Regions from separate parts of the Homo sapiens genome. Here region 1 is linked to region 2. The links are contacts of gene promoters, found by promoter capture Hi-C in human tissues and cell types (Jung and others, 2019). All regions are on one chromosome and are shown on one strand. Each heading gives the region's core, a stretch centred on a gene start or on the middle of the fragment in contact. The rest is flanking DNA. Distances are from core to core; before and after follow the strand shown.

Region 1 (3,049 bases), core at 1-2,500, 220 kb after region 2:
ACCAGGGCTTAGGGCCACCTGAGCTCCACTGCCCCGGCCGCTTTGCAGGGCTGGCACCCCGTGTCCTGTCCCATGTCCTCCCTGGCAGAACACGTGACTCTTGGGCGCTCCTGGCTGCGTCAGGCTCCACCGATTCCCACTGGGGGCGGCTGAGGGACCCGCAGACCTGGAGCTGGGCCCCCAGGATGGGTGGAGCGGCCACTGGTCCAGGAAGGCAGCGGGGCTCCCAGGGCGTCCGCAAGGGGCCTCTCAGACGCTTTGAGGAGCTCCGGGATGGGAGCCGGGATGTTTTTGTGAAACCAGAGAAGGTAGTGGAAGGTCAGGGCACCGGGGCGGGATCAGGGGCCACAGGCTGTTGACAAAGCCCTATCCCTGCGCCCTCACCCCGTGGGGGCGGGGCAGGCGTGGGTGCACCCAGACCCCCCAACCCTGATGTCCCCAATACCAAGGGCAGAGAGCAGCCCTGGCCGGTCCTTGGAGGATGCGGGCGCCGAGGGGGCCGGGGTCAGTCGGTTCAGAGTCGGAGCATAAGCCCGGTGGCCGAGTCGGCCGGGTGGTGGGGCGCCGGGGGGGCCGGAGCCGGGCAGGGCAGTGACCCGCTTGCCGGGGTCAAAGTCGCCAGTGTGGGCCGCGGAAGAGGAGCGGCCAGGCGGGGCGCAGACACCCCTCACCCCATCCTGGGCCGCGCCGGTGCCACCGGGCAGTCCTCGGGGCAGGAGCCCACCGAGGGGAGACAGCGCTGGTGAGACCCCGCGCCTCGGGGACGCGTCCGCGGCGCTTTGTGCGCTCCCCAGGGCGGCGGGGCCCGGGGCCCTGAGTGGGGAGTGTGGCCGCTGCAGTGTGGCCGCCGCAGGGCGCCAGGCGGCCAGCGACACCCCCGCCCCCAGCCGCGCCCCCCAGGACCAGAGAACGGGGGAGGGGCTGAGACCCCTGGACCTGCCCGACGGTGCAGGACCGGGTGGTGTCCGAGCCGGGGTTGGGAACGGGGGTGTCTGACGGGACTGAGGAGCGCACCAGCCCGGACCCCGGAGACCGCCCGGCCGGCTCCCCGCTCCCCGCGCCCCCGGCCCCGCCGCGCCCGCCCCGCGGTCTCTGTCCCCACCGGGTCGACTCCCCAACGTCCCCTCGGGGCCGCGGCCCAGGTGCTCACCGCGCGGCGCTGCTCGGGGGTCGGCTTGGCTCCCCGCCGTCCTCTGGGCGCGCTCGGGTCGGGCGCCGGTGACCGCTCGTCTTCGCGGCGCTGCCAGATCGGGGTCGGTGCAAACTTTCCGGCGGCGACGCAGGGCGAGGGCGGCGGCGGAGGGCGGGCTCGGGGGCGGCCCCGCGGGGGTGGGAGCGGCAGCCGAGGGTCCCCGCCCGCCCTCCGCGCAGCCTCCCGGCGAGCTTCGGTCCTGCCCACCCTGCGCAGGGAGCGCCTCGTACCCCGGCCATACGCAGACTCGGCGCGCTGAATTCCACCCCGCGGACCCGCGCCCCACAGACCTTTGTCCCACGGGTCCTGGTTCCGCAGACCCTAATCCTGCAGACCCCTGAGCCCGCGGACCCTGGCCCAGCAGGTGGTGGTCGCGGTGGGTCCCAGCTCCGGGAGGGGACGCCCTGGGACGCGGAGGGGCGCGCGGGCGTGGGGGCCGTGGCTCAGCCCCCCTTCCTCTCGCTCCCTCCGCCTCCCTGGGCGCCCCCTCGCCCCCTTCCTCTCGCGTCCCCGGGTTCTCGCCCCTTCTTTCCTGATGCCTGCCTGATTTTCTGGAAAGACCGACACCCCCAGTCGCCCCCACCGCGGCTCCCGGTTCCTTCCCCTGCAGAGCAGACGGGGGCTGGAGTAGGGGCCAACATGGGTGACATGGGTGGACCGGCAGGGCGGTCCCTGGGGTGCCCTTTAACTCTTTCTGTGCCACATCCCCGGTCTCTGGCCAGTCCTGTCGCGCTAAGGCCCCTCCAGCAGCGCTGACCCTGGTCCCCCACCTGCTGGTCCTGCGGCCGCGGGGCGCTCTCTCCTCCGTCCCACCCGCTCCTTCCACACCACCTCCTTTCCTGGGAGTGGAGAAGCCCCAGCCAGAACCCCTGCCTTCCCCAAGAGGCACGCTCAGAGGGACATTCTCCCCTTCCTCACTCCCCCTAGAGCCACATCACACCTGGCTTTGGGGCCCTAGAACCTCAGCCCGCGCCCCTCCCCTTCCACCCCCAGCCATCCCTGCTCTGTGCCCAGTGATCTTGGGGTCACCACAACCCCATGGCGCCTTGAGGCCTCACCTTTCCTGGCCTCTCAGCATCCTGGGACACTGATGGTCATGCCTTCCTTCTAGAAAGTTCTCTCCGAGGCTGTGGCTTCCAGGATGAGCACTCTCCTCCTCCCACTTCCTCCCCTTCTCCTTCCCCCTCCTCCCTTCTCCCTGGAGAGGTCTTCCTCCAAGTCCCAGTCTTCTTCCCCACCCAGAGCCCCTCCCGCTGACACTTGTCTGCAGTGCCTGTCTCCGCTCCCGCTAGGAAGCCTCCCCTCCGGCATCTCCAATCCATCTCTGGGTCCTGCTCCACCTGCATTTCCCTAGACCTGTCCTGGCCACCCTCACCCTGGGACACCTCCTGCCCGTGGAGAGCTCCTCTGATAGGTGCCGTCCTTGGTCTTGGGGGTCCTTTCTCCCTAATTCTACTTCTGTTTTGGGGGCGTGGGAACCCAGGGTCTTAACCCCAGCCATTCCCCCTCCCAGGGGCCACTTCCCTCTGAAGCTTAGCCCAGCTCTGTGACCCCCACAGGCCTGCCCCCACCTGGTCCTCACTCCCCTGCATAGCCACACTGTGGGGGCTCCATGCTTCCCAGCCCATAGGAAGCCCTGTTCCCAGAGGGGGCCATTCTGTTTTAGTTGGAGCAGTGGCCAGAGGCAAAGGTCAGAAGGCAAAGGTCATAAAAGTTTGTCTCTACCTGCCAGCATCTGCTCCTGCTACTGCATCTTCTCCCCTCTCCACCCAAACCCTCCCTCAGCTCCTGCCCCCACCTCTCCAGAGGCACAGACAACAGGGTTCTGATCTTGGGTCATGGTGCTCCCCCTGCCAG
Region 2 (3,086 bases), core at 228-2,727:
GTCGGGACCACCACCCACCTCTGAATGGACTTGTTCTGTTGGAGGAGTTTTCCCAGAGCCTCGGCCCCTGCAGCCCGAAGGTTGTTGCCCTAGGAGAGAAACAGGCCGGTAGTCACTCGCGTGCCCTGACTGGCTCTGAATTCCCGCCCATGCCCCAAGGGCCTTGGTCAGCCAGGGGACAAGCCTGGGGTGCACCCTGCAGCCTTCCTCAGCTCCTGGGCTCCCTGTCTTCAGGGGGCTTCCAAGGGCCGGCTTGTTTGCCAATGTGAACTCTTGCTCTGGAGATGGTCACACACAGGAGGCCATCAGAGAGCGGCCTGGGGACTCACAGACAGCTTCCAGCCACCTGCCCAGACCCCAGGCCCCCGAGACCTGGCATCTTCCACCTCTCCTCTTGCCCTTGGGTGGCACACTCGGACACTCAAGAGTGCAGGTATCTCACCTTTAAGTCCAGAAAGCGCAGCACGGTGTTGGCACACAGGCCTCGGAGCAGCAGTGTGGCCCCTGTGTAAGGGGGGCCGGCGGTCACTCTCTGCCCCTGCTGACCCCAAGGCCCTCCCCGTGGGCCCCTTTTCAGGGCAGCTCCCTAGACCCAGGAAGGGACAACTGTCCCGATGGTCTGGGTTGGCGCTGGCCAAGAGTCTCGCTGCGAAGTCATGTTTGAAACACCTGCAGCCCCTGCCAGGCACCAAGCCGGCTCTGCACGCGGGGAACCAGGTAAGACCGCGAATGTTAAGGCCTCTCCCCCGTCATACAGAGGAACTGCCCTCTACTCCCAGGTGCAGGAAGGGGCGCCCCTGCTCGCTTTAACTACGGCACAGAAATTGGAGAGCCTGGAGAGGAAGCGACCTCGGGCTGCCGAGGCAATGGTGTGGGCAGCTAAGGAGCAGAGGGATCCACCCCGCCGCGCCTGCCCACCTTCCTCGCTGAGCATGCAGTCACTCAGGACCAGCTCCGTGCACAGCGTCTCCCTCGGCAGCAGCTTGCCCAGGGCCCTGCAGGTCTCCACCGTCAGGCTTTGCGTGGCCAGGTCCAGCCGGCCCCTGGGAAGCTGGTGCAGCTGCTGCAGGACAGCCTCCTGGGGCTCGGCCCCACTCTCCCTGCACAGGCGGCTGTAGGAGCGCCGGAACTCCTCCATGACCCGCGGGGCCGGCAGGGCCTCCTCCGCATGCTCCCGCAGCTGCTGAAAGGGAGCCGCGCGGTGCGGAGCAGTCCCAGCGCCGGGTACAGGAGACGGGGCCTCCGCCGACCCGGGCGGAGAGCAATCCGAGTGGGCTCCGCGGGCGGGAGGTCCTGGGAGCGCGGGGCTGGGCGGTAGTCAAGGTCCGCTTTGGGCTGGGGCCCCGCAGTGCTTGGGGACCACCCGTGCAGGAAGCAGGCAGGTGCGTCGCGCGCCCCCACCCAGCCCTGCCCCGCCTGCAGCCCCGACCCCCGCCCTCGCGACAGCCGCGTCGGGGCCTCAGTATCCAGGAAGAACAAGGCGCGCCGGGAGAGGCCGCGGGAACTACAACTCCTAGCAGGCTCTGCGCAGGCAGCGCTTGGTGCGGGCCAATGAGAACAAAGGAACTGGCGCGCCTTTCGGGCCGCAAGCTGAGAGGGGGCAGCGCGCTCCAGGTTCATTGGCTAGGGGCATGAGGGTGGGGCCCCGGGAGGGCATGCTCCGGGCTCATTGGCTGAGGGTCGTGAGGGTGGTGCCCCGGGAGGGCGCGTTCCAAGTTCATTGGCTGCGGGACGTGAGGGAGGGGCTGCTGGAGGGCGCGCTCCGGGCTCATTGGCTGAGACGTGGGGGCGGGGCTCCGAGAGCAGGCGCTTCGGACTCATTGGCTAGGGGCGCGGGGCGGGGCTCCGGGGGCGCGCTCCGGTCTCATTGGCTGGAGGCGCGGGGCGGGGTTCCGGTGGGCGCGCGTTGAGGCTGCGGTCATGGAGGGAGCAGGAGCTGGATCCGGCTTCCGGAAGGTGAGGGCCGGAGGGCAGGGGCTAGGCAGGCGCGGACGCTCCGTCCCGACCTCACGCGTGACACTGTGAGGGCCAGACGCCAGCCCCCGCGCCGCCCCCTGTGCCTTTGAGGTTGGGCCCGTTCTCAGACTCCATCTCCGGCCGGGCCGCGCGCCCCGCGCCCTCGTGGGCTGGTGTCTCGCAGCTGGTAGGAGGGGGCGTGGAGCAGCCGGGGCTGCGGGAAGGTGGAGAGGGTCTGCAGAAACAGGCAGGGGTGGGCGCCGTCACGGCGGAGTCCAAGCCGGCGAAGAGAGAGGAGGAGCTGGGCCGCCGCCCTGCGCCCTGAGCCTGGGGTCTTTTGTTAAGGGGAGATGAGGCCCCAGGACGGGGACAGTGAGATCGTCCAGCCCGAGGAGCCGGCAGGACCTACCCCAGCCGCCAGGCACAGTGGTTTCCCTTTTGTTTGCTCCCCGGTGGGCGCCAGCACTGGGCTAGGAACGCGTGGTTTCTTCGGTGCTCCACGTTACACACACTTGACAGGGATTAACCCCACCTGCCAGTGGAGAAACTGAGGCACGGGGGCGTTAAGTGACTCAGCAGGGCTAGGGTCAGACCTAGGCCGTCTGAGCCAGGATCCGCCCAGGCTGGAGGGCGTGCCCTGCTCTTCCCTGTTCCTGGAAGTGGAGCTCTCTGGGGGTGCCATGTGCAGAGGACCCCATCGGTGCAGGCAGAGTGGTTTCTGAACCTTTCTACTGCTCTACCTGAAGGTTGGGGCACCGAGCTTCCTCGATGTCAGCAGGGCCTCGTGGGCCTCTGTGGCCTGGGAAGGGAGGGTCTCAGGCCCTTGTGAACCCATCCTGGAGGGAGGACTTCAGCCCTGTAGAAGCAGGGAGAATTCTGTTTCTCCTGAATCAGGCCCTTCTTTATCACCCAAGGCAGCAGGCGTGGGGGGCGGGGGGTGTCGGTGTGGGGAACTCTGGTGGTGGAGTTGAAGATTCTTGCCGGAATTCAGAAAGAGAAAGTCACTGAGGCTTGGGCCACCTCACTGGGTGGTTGTGAGAACACCAGGTTAAAGTAGCCAAAAGGCCACTGCCGGAGACGGGGCACTGGGTACACACCCCAGGAGGTCATGTGTTCTATCAAGCCCACCT

The links. Contacts are between HindIII fragments. The study calls those that stand out against the background at their distance.
Region 1: a contact is called between the fragment with the promoter of GCGR here and the fragment with the promoter of LRRC45 in region 2, in 1 of the 25 tissues and cell types used here (mesendoderm cells).

What each region holds. Positions count from the first base shown.
Region 1 is chr17:81,802,351-81,805,399 of GRCh38, reverse strand. GCGR (glucagon receptor) reads right to left here and starts at 1,250. Exons shown (of 14, transcript NM_000160.5): 1 at 1,151-1,250. LOC105376789 (a long non-coding RNA gene) reads left to right here and starts at 655. Exons shown (of 4, transcript XR_001753046.3): 1 at 655-742. RefSeq lists an enhancer at 1,282-1,781. The HindIII fragment of the contact is 39,466 bases long and covers 1-3,049 here.
Region 2 is chr17:82,021,696-82,024,781 of GRCh38, reverse strand. It overlaps LRRC45 (leucine rich repeat containing 45), which reads right to left and starts at 1,477. Exons shown (of 17, transcript NM_144999.4): 1 at 919-1,477; 2 at 443-504; 3 at 19-89. The coding sequence starts at 1,138. It overlaps CENPX (centromere protein X), which reads left to right and starts at 1,904. Exons shown (of 5, transcript NM_001271006.2): 1 at 1,904-1,956. The coding sequence starts at 1,921. RefSeq lists enhancers at 504-1,427, 2,977-3,086 and a silencer at 1,164-2,213. The HindIII fragment of the contact is 20,224 bases long and covers 1-3,086 here.